Linked DNA regions of Homo sapiens: region 2 is linked to region 1. Evidence: promoter capture Hi-C in 16 types of primary human blood cells and fetal thymus (Javierre and others, 2016). All regions are on one chromosome and are shown on one strand. Each heading gives the region's core, a stretch centred on a gene start or on the middle of the fragment in contact. The rest is flanking DNA. Distances are from core to core; before and after follow the strand shown.

Region 1 (7,367 bases), core at 15-2,514:
TCAGTGAGAAAAAGAAAGGAGAGGCAAAAGGAAGACAAGGAGAATGTTAAGTCCTACTGGCATAAAAGCCACTACTCAGAAGAACGGGATTACTGTACAAAAATATACAAAACAAACCCAATCTTCAGAATTTATTCCCAGAAGGGGCTAAGAAAACCGGACATTCGGATCTAAAATATGTATATTTTTAAATGCCTATGAATAGCTTTTCTTGTCTGTTTCTATATTTTTTTACTTTGAAGAAGCTGCCAATTTCTGCTGGCTTAATGCCAATTTCGCTGCTTGGGGTTACTCAATTTACAAGCATCCCTTTATTTATACCCTATACTCTAGGGTCTCCGGCAGTCACAATAACGACTCTGAAAAAGCAGTCGCTTTTGCAGGGTGCCAGAAAGATCAGCGCTCCTCACCCGGAACTAAGGTCCCTGTGGGACACAGTACACCCCGTCCACTAGTTCCAAACTTAAAAGACGCTGGGCGGAAGGTCTTCCCAAGTCAAAAAGCCTCCCAAAGGAGAAGGACCCTGGAGGCCGGGCTTCGGGGCATTTCTGCGTCTCCGGACTGCCCTGTCGCCTCCGGGGCAGCTAGCCGTTTTGAGGACTGTCCTGGTGTGGGGCTGTGGGCTGCAGAAGGTTCTGCCCAGCGACCTTGGGCAAGTCCCTTCCTCTCCTGGAGTAAGAGGAAAATTCTGGGAAGGCTGTGTAAGGGAGCTTCCCATTGCCGCCTCAGAATCCACTTTCTGCCCCCCGCTCTCCAACGCCAAGAAGGAATCACACTTGGCCCTCCAGACTTCACCCCAGCCTTATGCCCGCCACCCTTCCCAGTCCCTGGGAGACCCGCGGGAACTAACACATCCAACCGAGGGCATGGCCCGAAGGCAAGGGGGAGGCAGTAAACACCAAATCCCGGTCTCAGACCCACTCCGCCCCAAGCGGGCCTACCGGGCGCATTCCGACCCGCCCCGCCCTGCGGTCACGGCCCGCCAGGTCCCGCTTCCACCCAAGGGAAGTACAGAGCGCGCCGGGGAGGGTCGGGTGGGGGGCCGGGTCAGGAGGCGCCCACCTTGAGCTGGGACTTGGAGACCTTGCCGCTGTGGTCCTGGTCGAGTGCGGTGAAGGCGTGCCAGATGGCTTTGAGCAGCTCCTCCTTCAAGCTCCCCATGGCCGCGGCCCTGCTGCCCCGCCAACCCCTCCTGCCCAGCCAGCCCCTCCGCGCCTCGGACGCCCCTCAACCTCCGCAGCCACAGCCCGCCGCGCAGTCACCTGACCCGCCAGGCCCCGCCCCCGCCAGGCCCCGCCCTGCTGCCGGCGCCGGTCCAGTGCCGCGCCCACAGCCGCCAGAGTGTGGGTTCTGCGAGTCAAGCCACGCCTGGTGGCAAGAATGCTTGGCCTTCAGTGTCAGCCAGGACGGTAAACACATCTCCCTAATGTTTCCCAGACCAGTTCGGGCCATTTTGGGTGCTCGAGTACAACACCTCACACAAATGACCGCGTCTTGAGGAAAAACCCGAGAGATTAGGTGAGCAGCCTACCCGCCTCCTCCCAGCGCCCCGCAGTGAAAAAGGGATCCCTGGTCCTGTCCTGGGAACGGAGTCACTGTCTGAGAAGGCCAGAGAAGACCCCGAAAAGTCCCCAGACCAGGACTGAAATGATAGCGCAGTCCCAAGTCGGGGAGATGCAGGGCGGCGGGGAGGCAGGAAGGACCTCGAGGGAAGTTTGTTGGTTCATTTCGCAAAAGTTTATTCATGCATACTCTATCTTGGGTTCTAGGGACACAGCGACGACGTTTAAGGGGAGTTTAGAAGTCAGGGTCAGGCAGCATTTTCTTCCTAACGCCTAGCTGTTGTTCAATTCACATCTTAGGAGGGGTTTGACCTGGGTAATACCTCTCTGTAGTGTTTCTCTGCTTGCAGAATAGGAGATCTGGGCCAATTCCAAATCACTCCACCCATTTTACTAATCCAAAGAGATGGACCATTTAAAAGAACGTATTCGGCCAGGCGTGGTGGCTCACGCCTGTAATCCCAGCCCTTTGGGAGGCCAAGGCGGGCGGATCACCTGAGGTCGGGGGTTCGAGACCAGCCTGACCAACATGAAGAAACCCCGTCTCTACTAAAAATACAAAATTAGCCGGGCGTGGTGGCACATGCCTGTAATCTCAGCTACTCGGGAGGCTGAGGCAGGAGAATCGCTTGAACCCGGTAGGCGGAGGTTGCAGTGAACCAAGATCGCGCCATTGCACTCCAGCCTGGGCAACAAGAGTGAAACTCCGTCTCAAAAAAAAAAAAAAAAGTATTCGATTGCAGCTGTTGAATTAATATCTGTTCGCGGTGGTCACAATGGTCACTTGATCTCTTTGGGCTTCAAATTATCCCGTATAAAAAGAGCAGGGTTGCACCAGATGTTCTGGAAGGGTTCTTGCAGTACTAGCATCCTAGGATAATAACTATTGCCGGTTAACTAAGGTCTGATTAAATCGCCAGGCTCAGTACCTCTCCTCTCCAATCCTGGACTAATTGGAGAGAACAATAAACACCAAGAGTTTTTAAAATGAGGTGGTTCTCAGATGAAGTTTGGTTTTGTTTTGCTTTTTTAAGTTCCTTAATGCACATGTTTGCCTTATTAAGAAAGGAAAAGATCTTCATAAGAAAGGGATATTTGGAAAGAGAAGAACAAGAAGGAGCCTCTTCAGTGAGTTTGAGATCAAAAAGGAACTGGTGGGGAAGAGGAGAGGATGGCCCCACTGACGAAAGAAGGGGCAGGAGCAAAAGGGTGGCCAGCCCCTCACTGTGACTGTCCTGAAGGTTCTACCCCATTTCATCACCATTTGTCAGGACTTTTCTTGCCCTACCAGAATCCAATTTCTATCATTTATCTTCCCCATTTCCAGCCCAAGTCTGCCAGTCAGCAAAACCACATGGTTTAACCTCTGATTTATTCATGCGAAGTCAGCTTACCCTGAGTAGCAAAAAAAAAAAAAAAAGAAGAAGAAGAAAAAAGAAACGAAGAAAACCTCCTAATTCTCAAGGTTCAGTTTAACCACTATATGACCCTTCTTCTCTCTCAGTATCTGGAAGTACCAAACATATTTCAAAGCCTTTTTTTTATGACAAGACCAGGACATTGTGGACTTCCAAATTCCTACTTCTCCCATCATCCTCATTCATACAATCCAAACGCATTTTTTTTCTTTTTTTTTCTTTTCTTTTTTTTTTGAGACAGAGTCTCACTCTGTTGCCCAGGCTGGAGTGCAACGGTATGATCTCAGCTCACTGCAACCTCCGCCTCCCGGGTTCAAGCGATTCTCCTGCCTCAACCTCCCAAGTAGCTGGGATTACAGGCGCCAGCCACCACGCCCGGCTAATTTTTTTATTTTTAGTAGAGATGGGGTTTCGCCATGTTGGCCAGGTTGGTCTCAAACTCCCAGCCTCAAGTGAGCTGCCCTCCTTGGCCTCCCAAAGTGCTGGGATTACAGGCGTGAGCCACCATGCCCTTCCTATCCAAACAAATTTTAAAGTAGCATGATGTCATAGAAAGCGCTGTGCTTTTCCTGGGTGCAGTGGCTCCTGCCTGTAATCCCAACACTTTGAGAGACTGGGGTGGGAGGATTGCTTGAGGCCAGGAGTTCAAGACCAGCCTGGGCAATGTAGCAAAACCCCGTCTCCACAAAAAAATTGAAAATAAGAAAGAAAGAAAAGTAAAGAGTTGTGCTTCAGAATCTAACAGATTATATTAATCTAATGCTGTGTAACCAATTAACCCAAAATTTAGCAGCTTAAAACTATAGTAAACATTATTTCATATTTTCTGTAAGTCAGGAATTTAGAAGCCACTTAGCTCTATAGTTCTGGCTTGAAGTGTCTCAGGAGGTTGCAGTAAAATATAGGGCTGTAGTCATTTGAAGGCTAGGCTGATGCTGGAAAATCTATTTCCAAGGTGGTTCACTCACATGGATGGGTCGTTTACAGAAGGCCTCAGTTCCTCTGTATATGGGCCTGTCCTCAGGCTGCTTGAGTATCCTTACAACACGTCAGCTGGCTTTCAATTGATTCAAGAAAGAGAAAGATGGAAGTTGCAATGTCTCTTACGATCCACCATCAAAAGTCATTCACCATCATTTCTGCAATGCTCTACTGATTGCTCAGGTCAAATCTATTTGATTTGGGAGGGAAACTACAAAAGGATATGAGTACCAATGGGCAAGAATCATGGGGGTCATCTTGGAAGATGGCTACCACACAGATGTCGGGAAGAATCCGGGCTTCCCCATTGACTCATCTATGAGTAAATATAAGGCTTCATTTCCTCATATGTAAAATGAGAATGCTAATATTTATTTTGCAACACTTCTTTTTTCTTTTTTTAATTTTTTTTTTTTTTTTTACAGCCCAGAGGTCCTTTATTTTTTTTTTTAACACCTATTATGCCATGAATTCATAGGAAATAGGTTCCAGCAGCTCAGGCTGCTTCCCGTTGGTTCTCACAAAGTGTGCTTCTCTGGGTGGAGCAGGCTGGCGCTTTAGTTGAACCCAGGTACCTTTCTCTTTGGCGTCTTTCTTTTTCTGATCATTTTCCTTCACGTGTTTCAGGAAGCTATCTCGGCTCTTAGAGTGCTTAATGTGCTCAATACGCACCTTAATTCTCTTGGCAAGAATCTTGCCCTTAACTTGTTTGTTTACAACAATGCCAACAGCATGCTGGGTAACATTGTAGACTCTTCCAGTTTTGCCATGGTAACACTTGTGGGGCATTCCTTTTTGAGCAGTACCCATTCCCTTGATGTCTACAATATCAGCTTTCTTATAGATTCGCATATATGTGGCCAAAGGAACAACTCCATGTTTTCTAAAAGGCCTAGAGAACATATATCGGGTGCCTCTCCTCTTTCCCTTTGTGTTCGTCATTTTGGCGAATTACTGGAAGATGGCGGTTCCGGCCGAAAGGAAACTTTTTTTTTTTTTTTTTGAGACGAAGTCTTGCTGTCACCCAGGCTGGAGCGCAGTGGCTTGATCTTGGCTCACTGCAATCTCTGGCACCTGGGTTTAAGCAATTCTCCTGCCTCAGCCTCTGAAATAGCTGGGATTACAAGCGCGTGCCACCATGCCCAGCTAATTTTTGTATATTTAGTAGAGATGGGGTTTCAGCATCTTGGCCAGGCTGGTCTTGAACTCCTGACCTCGTGATCCACCCTGCCTCGGCCTCTCAAAGTGCTGGGATTACAGGCGTCAGCCACCGCACCCGGCCTCTTTTTTTAATTTTTATTTTTTTGATGAGGTCTTTCCAGATGAGATCTATTTTGCAAGACTGGTATGAAGTTTAAATGAGAGGGTAGTATGTATAAGACACAGCATCAGCATCATGGTATCTGACAGTCACTGATGTTTGTACTGTGTCAATTAGGTAAGTTGAAATCTAGTTCCTCAAATGTCCGTTCCCAATGTGGATCCAGGATAGGATTCACTACAGAAGAATTTCGTGTAAGTTTGGAAGGAGCAGGTAAGATTTATGTAAGATTTGGAAGCAGCAGCCCTTGTGTTCTGAAGGTTGATGTAAATATCACATGCCGCTGCAGATCATAGAGTGGTTACTGATCTGCTAACATACTTTGTTGGTACAGAGCATTAACTGGCCCACAGCTCCTTCAACTCCCACCAAATTTTCTATTTCAGTGTCTCCAAGCCTTGGCGCAAGGCACGTGTAGTTCCATGGTAAAGGCATTAGCTTATGCTACATATCGCATGCTCGTCAATGTGAAAGATAGCTGTGAGTTCCATTTTGTCTTCGTGGGTTCCAGTTTGTCCTGTGGATTCTAGTTTGTCCTCACTCTCCCTCAATGCAATCCAACTTTTCTTCCTGATTGCTAGCCCTGATGACCTATCATAAACTTCAGGCCCATTGCTGGATGCAGAGGGAACAGCCTTCCATGTACTCATTCGTCAGCTTTCCTTTGTGATCTCTGGTTAGTGACTTTTCTGATTGTCCAGCCATCTCCTTTCAGACCTTTTCTTCCCTAGCTTCTCCTGCAACTGTATTGTATCCAATTCTCAGAATAAAGCCTGTATTCCATAGTGGTGGCCACTTCCCTGATCAGCCCATAACTGATAATAAAACTGGTGAAGTTAGACACTGCAACAATGAAAAGCATGTGTTGGCCGGGCGCGGTGGCTCACGCCTGTAATCCCAGCACTTTGGGAGGCTGAGGCAGGTGGATCACGAGGTCAGGAGATCAAGACCATCCTGGCTAACATGGTGAAACACTGTCTCTACTAAATATACAAAAAATTAGCCGGGTGTGGTGGCGGGCGCCTGTAGTCCCAGCTACTCGGGAGGCTGAGGCAGGAGAATGGCGTGAACCTGAGAGGCGGAGCTTGCCGTGAGCGGAGATCGCACCACTGCACTCCAGCCTGGGTGACAGAGCGAGACTCTGTCTCAAAAAAAAAAAAGAAAGAAAAACATGTGTCATCGGCTTTGGACAGGGGTGGGCGGAAGCCAAAAGGACCTCAAGAGAAGTCTTGAAGGACAGTGAGGGAATTGCTATTGAAGGTCGGTGCTTTGAGTTGACTTGTGTCCCCACCAAAATTCATATTGAAATTCTAACTCCCAGTACCTCAGAATGTGATCTTATTTGCTCTTGTTTTTGGGTTTTTTTAGCGACAGGATCTCAGTCACCCAGGCGGGGGTAGAGTGGTACAATCATAGCTCGCTGTAACCTTGAACTCCTGTGCTCAAGTGATCCTCCTGCCTCCGCCTCCCAAGTACATAGGATTATAGGCACATACCACCATGCCCAGCTAATTTTTTTACTTTTTTTGTAGAGACAGGGTCTTGGCTATGTTGTCCACACTGGTCTCAAACTCCTGGCCTCAAAGGATCCTCCCACTTCAGCCTTCCCAAGCACTGGGATTACAGGCATGAGCCACTGCACCCAGCCAGAATGTAATCATATTTGAAGATAGGGTCTTTATAGAGGTAGTTCACTTAAAATGATGTCATTAGGTTGGGTCCTAATCCATTATGACTGGCGTCCAAATTTTGGACACAAACATGCACACAGAAAGAACACCATGCCAGCCTGAAGACAGAGATCAGAGTGATGGATCTACAAGCCAAAGAATGCCAGACATTGCTGCCAGCAAGCAAACCACGAGAATCTAGGAGAGAAACATGGGACAGATTATTGCTCACAGCTCTTAGGCAGGATCAACCCAACCAACACCTTGATCTTGGACATCTAGTCCAGAACTGTGAGATTGCCAGGGGCAGTGGTTCATGCCTGTAATCCCAGCACTTTGGGAGGCCAAGGCAGGTGGGTCACTTGAGGCCAGGAGTTCAAGACCAGCCTGGCCAACATGGCAAAACCCTGTCTCT
Region 2 (6,964 bases), core at 1,136-3,635, 660 kb before region 1:
CTATTGCTGCTGAGACTGCATATGTCTCCCACTTTTATCTAGCAGGAGAAAGGGAACTTGTTTTTCTGGAAATAAGCCAGTAAACTTATGCAAACTCATTGGCCTGAATTGCTAGTGAGACCACATATGTGTCCCATTCTTATCTAGCAGGAAAAAGGAAATTTGTTTTTCTGGAAATAAGCCAATAAACTTATGCAAGCTCACTGGCCTGAATTAGGCCAGCACCCATCACTGGGTCCTGTAATAGTGGCCTTAAAATGGAATTGCACTAGGCCTGAGTCTTCAGGAGTGGAGTGGTCTATTGGGGGAGATGTGGATACCCTAACAAAAGTCATGGTAGTTACCAAGAGAAGAACAAGGGCTGGGGAGGCAACTCCAAGGCTCTCTTAGCTACATATTATCCTATTTTTCAGAGGAGAAACTGAAGCTTGGAGATGCTGCTGTGTGTAATGATAGAGCCAGGACTCTCACCCTTCCCTACACCAGGTTATCTTGAAGAAACAAACCAAAGAAAAGCCGGAATGGTCATCCCTTCACTTTCAGCCTAAAACATGTAGATAGGAAAGAGAAGCAGGGATTTCATGAGACTGGGAAAATCTCAGCCACTGTGCACCCAGGAGCTACTGAATCTACCTACTCCACAAAGCTGAGGCAGCTTTGAACCTTCACATCACCTGGAACCATGCCTAGCTCAGCAACTATTTGTAAACTGAAGAGCAGAGACTACAAAGGTATTACCCATAATGATGAGTTCTAGAGCACTGTTTCCCCAGCCCATTCTGGGTTAAATCAGAGGTGTGGGCTAGCCTGGGAACCTTGCCACACTGCATAACATTGCTCCTCCTGGGGAATGTCTTCCGAGTTCTAAAGGACAGATTTGCAAATAGACTTCTGGAGTACAGCCCCATCCACTGCTGGGAACTGCCTTTGTTTGACTTGTTTATTCAGGAGAGCTTCTCTGGACTTTCACCCAGCCGCTGCCTGGCAGGAGGTGACCTGGCTTTAGCCAACAGTGGGTGGGGACAGCAGGAGAGCAGCTTCTGCTCAGTGCTAACTGGACACAAAGCTATACCATAGGAAGGGGGAAGGGCAGAGTATTCAAAGGCCATAAGACAGCTAGTCTTTGACAAGGGACCTCATTTAAGGAGCATGAGTCTCCCTGTCTCACTTCTACCTGGTGGAAGAGTGAGACAAAATTAACTTACATGACTTGAAAGGCTTTTGCAATTTTTGAGGGCCACTGAGTATAAATTTTCCAATAAGCAGCTGTTGGCTTTTGTTCCTGCTGAGGTCTCTCACAAGGCAGCATCAGGTTTGAGTGTCATGGCCTGCCATGGCCCCACTGGCCTTGAGGGTTTCTGTGGCCTATTTTAAGCAATTTTACTGTTCATGGTCCTGGCAAACATATCCATTTTTCTGACAATATTTATAGTCTGATGTAAGTGTGAACTAGATAATGACCTTTTCAAGTCATGGCACAATGTTCTGTTTAAAGTTTTCATTTTTTTGCTCAGAACATCTGCAAGATCCTTTGACCCTTCTGCATGGTCTCTTGGAGATTTTCCTAACTTTCTGACCACTTGTGGGGATAGAGGGGTGAATGATGGGCAGACCCTTCACGTGTCTTGGGTCATGTGAGCATCTGAGCCTACAGAGAACACTCCTTTTGCTTCTGAAGCTCTTGCAGCCCGTTCTGAGAAATGTAATGCTGACCAGTTCATCTCAGGCATTTCTTTCTCTCCGGACATTATAGGATCACCCTCAAAACACGTGTGAGGGCACATACATCATCAGCTTCCCATAGTGAGTAGTTCCTAGGACTTGGATAACATTTCAAGCTTGACATGGCTAAAACAATACCATATCTGCAGTTAACTTTAGGTGACTCACCAGAAGAGCTATTTTAAACAAATTTGTAGCGACTAAGATTACATTTGTTCTATGAAAAACAGACTGAAAGGACAAAAGGCTAATGCAATATTTTTGAAACGCTCTTTTTAAGCTCAATGAAGTCCTGCTGTATTTTCTTGACAGCATCCTAGTTACCAGGCATAACAGGAGGGGCAATAACTGGTATCTAAACCACTCAAGAAACAAGCATGTCTTGACACCATCCAGCAGGAGTATATGTTCATCAGAAGACAGGTTTGTAGAAATAGTGATGGCCATGTTCATCTAGTCACCAGGGATTCTAATGTATTCCCTTTCAAAATAATATTGGTCAGGCTAGAGCTCTGGTAGCCTTGTGAAGGGTATGGTTTACCAGTCACCTGGCCTGCCTTAAGGTCATCTTCAGTTCTCCTGGCAATTACTATACTCTCTTCTCTATCCCAGAGTGCAGACACATTTCTGTATTTAGTTCAAAGAAAATCAACAGCACAAATTCATAGGGATTCCTGACAAAGCCAGAAGGTCAGAGCTAGAAGCAGATTGGGGCTTCTAGCTCTGACCTTTCAGCTGAGACAAGATTTCTAAGGGGAGAAGAATGAACAGATGTGAGGAATGGGGTGCTCTCATGCTACTCAAATGAAGCACAAAGGTAAACACCAACCTCATTATTCTCCTGAGAAGTTGCTTATTTTCCTGGGGTGGGGAACCTGGGGGCAGGCAGAACCTTCAAGGCCTGAGAACTATCAAGAGACTCTTTAGGAGGCGAGGAGAAGCTGAAACCACTATCCCAACCCAGTTCTCCTGAGTTTTCCTTCCTGCTTCGGGTTTCCCACTTCATTTCCCATTGCCGTGGCATCATGTCAGCCCCTACCTGTGAGGAGATACTGACATTTCTTTAGTGTTATACAAACTCCTTCCCTGAACTCTTCTTCACATAGCTGAGATAGGCTGGAACTTTTCCAAAGCCTTTACAAAATACTGAGGGAGAACAACGGGGACATAAACAAGAAAATACATGAAGCATAAACATGGTCAAGCTTGTGCAATATGTTAACAATCATAATATTTAGGGAATGAGACACAGAAGGGAGAAATGTTGTACATAATAACCTTGTTTGATAATTTTTAGGAACTGTATATACTTTATAAGTAATACACATTTATTTTGACATATACAGTATTAATTTTGGTCCTACCATAGCATTCTAGCTCCCATGGTTCACTCCACTTACAGACTTTCCACCTGATTAACTCTGAGACTCTTCCTTCTGTTCCTTTCTATCCCCGTCCCTCCCCAACAGGTCTCACGAACCTTCTGGGAAGAACAACGGGTGATAAGTTTGACCATTCAGTCAATAAATGTGCCAGCTATAATGCCAGACACAGTGATAAGCCATCAGTTACCTTCAATGCTTATCGATACCACTCAAATGCCTTTTCTCTTTGATAGGAGAAAAGACCAAGGGTCATTTCCTTAACACTTCTTTCTGTGTCCATCTAAAAAGTCACTTAGAATTATATGAAAACACACTTAATAGACTCAGTAATCTCTGCCAAGAAAAAGATCTTGGTTGAAAGAATTCTCAGCTACAACAATGACTGCAATCAAAAAGAACTCATTTACATACAAATGGATCTTCCCAAAGAAGGCAAAAAGGAAAATCCCACTTTCTGATTTGGAGCAGCAACAAGCCACTAATATAGTCAAGGCAAGGCAGCCTCTGTCCTCTGGATGCCTCCAATAAGATGACTAAGGGCTTTATCAAGCCCATCTAAGCTTATGACTATATTAATGCTCCAGTGCTCTTTATTTGAGCTCCGAGGAGCCACTGTTTTCCTCATCCCTCTCATCATCTAACCTGAGCTCAAGTATTCTCACCTGGGTGTGATTCAAATGGAGCTAGCCTTTACTTTCCTGGACACTCGTCTTCCTTAATCTGCCTCAGTTTCCTCAAGGAAGACAAAGATAAAACATCTGGAGACACCACAAATGAACCTCATCACAAATGAACCTCAAGCTGAGAAGAGCACTTCTGAGAGGCACTTCCAATACCACCCACTGACACCCAGCAGAGAATAGTCTGTGCTTGGGGAATTTACCTACTGCTACAGTTTTCAGACATCATTGGCCCATAAAGAAAAGACACTTAAACCTATAAGCCTCCTGGGTTTTGCTCTGGAGCCTCACTGGTCAGAGCCTTGCGTGAACTCCCTTGGAAAGTTGTCTGGGATCAAGGAGTCTGCCCTTGAGTCTCAGCAAGGGATGAGGGAGGCAGGACTTAATGGACTGAAAGAGAGAAGCCACCCATGTGGTCCAACAGTTCATCCTAGGAAATGACAGTCCAGTTGGTACACAACTACATAAACTTATATTCCAAAATCCCCCAAATTCACCACCAAGGCACTTGGCTAAGATAACCAATATACAATCAACCTAGAACCGTTTCAAGAATTTATTCCTAAAGAAACAGCAGGTGGCAGCAGAGTTTTACATTTTTTTTTTTTTTTTTTGCCCTTTGGACTGGAATGAAAACAAAGTGTCACGGAATAATCTCCTCATCTCTGAGTCAGCCAATTGGCCCAGAAACGGGCATATTGCCGTCTTGTAACGTGAAGAGTATAGCATCTTCTCAGAGTGGGCTCTGTGCACTTTGACAAGAGAATACAACATCACCCGCCACCCCCAGGCCAGAGACCTGCCTGGTTCTGTAGGCCAAGTAGGAAAATGACTGCCCCAGAATGACCAGATCACAGAGGCTGTGGCCCTGAGTTTCATATTCATTTTCCCAGTATCAAGGTGTTGCTCATTTACAATGTGGAGGCCCTCAAAGAAAACTGAGTATGATTAAGTGGAAGAATGCCTAGGAATTGAGTATACACCTCACAGCATTTTCACCATCTATTATGATATAATCCATGGCAGAAATGTAGGGGCAAAAAAAAGTGGAAAAGGGGAGTTAATAAAATCTGGTTTCTGGTGTACTTAGAGATTTAGAGATCTCTGAAAGCTGCATCACCACCCCACAGCTGCTGCAGCTTGGGCTCAGGAGCAGGCAGTGCCAAGACCACTGTCTGCTTTGGCCTCAAATACCTTCCTTGACTTAGTATTGTGCTTGGCTCCCAACTTCCAAGTTGTAGCTGGAAAGTTTCCATTGTCACAGTGTAGCACCAGAGTTGGAACCCAAGTTTTTGCTGAATTGTTTTGCAGAGCAAATCCAGTTTTGCCTTTAAGAAGTGACTGGTCAGCCGGGAGCAGTGGCTCACGCCTGTAATCCCAGCACTTTGGGAGGCCGAGGCAGGCAGATCACGAGGTAAGGAGATCAAGACCATCCTGGCTAACATGGTGAAACCCTGTCTCTACTAAAAATACAAAAAATTAGCTGGGCGTGGTGGCAGGCGCCTGTAGTCCCAGCTACTCAGGAGGCTGAGGCAGGAGAATGGCGTGAACCCGGGAGGCGGAGCTTGCAGTGAGCCGAGATTGCGCCACTGCACTCCAGCCTGGGTGACAGAGCGAGATTCCGTCTCAAAAAAAAAAAAGAAGTGACTGGTCAGTTTGTTCCATCCCAAAATGGTGATTCAGAACTCTCTCAGACACACCTTAGACTGAGATACTTTTTTTTTTTTCCCCTTAGATTAGAGAAGGAGGATTTCCTTATGTTGCCCAGGCTGGTCTTGAACCCTTGACCTCAAGCAAGGCTCCTGCCTCAGCCTACCAAAATGCTGGGATTACAGGCCTGAGCTGCCTCACCCAGGCTGAGATGTTTAATTTCCATCCAAGAGGAAACTTTCTTATCATTTAAAGTAGAAATGGAAGGATGGAAGAAGGTGGGGGTAGGGCTGGAGGAATTTTAATTGTTATTATTTTTTTTAAGTATGAAACTTGTTCAGGAAAAAGATAAAGTTAAGGACCTTGTCTCCAGGATCCCAAACAGATTTTGCAAACATATATTTGTGGGTTTTCTTTTTGGAAGTAGAGTTGACAGAAAAGTGAGTAGCTTTAACTCTGTAGCAACACAACTCCTGGTGACCAAAGAGAACATTCCTGAAGATCCAGTGGAGGTAGAAGACGTTCATTTATTTACATGACATGCAGCCTCAGCCCCAAACATGTTTTTTGTTTTCTTTTTCTGCAGAAAATATGATTTTGTTCTGACAACTTAAGGACACACTTCACAGCTCTCAGCCCAGAAAGGGTCATTTAAGATTATCTAATAAGGAAAACATTGTATAATTCCTTTGAATGTAATAAACAATATCTTTTGGAGCAACCTGCAGCAAATGTTCCAAATTTCACATCAACATTTAATTCCCCCTCTGTGCGTATGTTCTACACTCCCCAAAAAATGATGTTAAAACATTTAATGCAGTGAATTGACAGCACCAGGAAAATATTTGGGCTGTCTGGAGTTGCCATTATTGGCTTTAATTATGACCTACTGGCTCTTGGGTCCTAAAGCAGCCAGAAAATGAGATATGTGTGCCAAAATATTCATTAGAATTCCCTTCTCAGTCATTGTATAGAAAGAACAAGTTTCCTTCTGGCTCCCATCTTCAGTATTTTAAGTGGAATTATTAATATGCCAGATTTTTTAAAGGATCAGTCAGTAAACAAGATTATGTGCATACCTTGTATTTTGCATTTTAAAAATCTTGAAAAGGTCAAATGTCCCCTTTGCTATCATTGTATTACTGTGAAGAAAGAATTGTTTTTGCAGCTATGGAGTTAACCGGTACTATCCACCCAGGCCTCCTCATCCAAACCCTGCTCTCTGGAACTGACTTGATCCTATACGCTTTGGAACTGAAAGTACTGATGAAGCACAGCTTGGGTCTCCCAAGGAACTAGTCAGAAAGGTGGTTTAATTTCTCCCGCTTTTCAATGTTCATTTCTCCCTGAATATAAGACCTCAGAAGGCTAGAGTCATAGAGGAAGAATCTTTGAGATCCTTGATGCCATGTCCTTATTTTAGAGATGATTAATCTAAAGAGAAATGGTATATTCACTGCTTTACCTTTGTGTTCTGGCATTGAGAAAGAGCAGGTGCTTTTTTTTTCTTTATTTTTTAAACCACAG

Evidence for each region. Contacts are between HindIII fragments. The CHiCAGO score rates a contact against its expected background, and 5 or more counts as called.
Region 2: a contact is called between a fragment that was not itself captured here and the fragment with the promoter of SWAP70 in region 1, in 2 of 17 cell types (M1 macrophages and naive B cells). The highest score is 6.2, in M1 macrophages.

Annotation. Positions count from the first base shown.
Region 1 is chr11:9,657,974-9,665,340 of GRCh38, reverse strand. It overlaps SWAP70 (switching B cell complex subunit SWAP70), which reads right to left and starts at 1,264. Exons shown (of 12, transcript NM_015055.4): 1 at 1,063-1,264. The coding sequence starts at 1,161. It overlaps LOC124902628 (a long non-coding RNA gene), which reads left to right and starts at 5,227. Exons shown (of 2, transcript XR_007062586.1): 1 at 5,227-5,958. It also overlaps the pseudogene RPL21P97. RefSeq lists enhancers at 657-776, 1,887-2,086 and a silencer at 917-1,416. The HindIII fragment of the contact is 17,442 bases long and covers 1-7,367 here.
Region 2 is chr11:10,320,609-10,327,572 of GRCh38, reverse strand. All of the region lies in intron 1 of CAND1.11 (a long non-coding RNA gene), which reads right to left. Among named protein-coding and RNA genes, the nearest start is that of CAND1.11, 16 kb to the right of the region's middle. The HindIII fragment of the contact is 1,089 bases long and covers 1,841-2,929 here.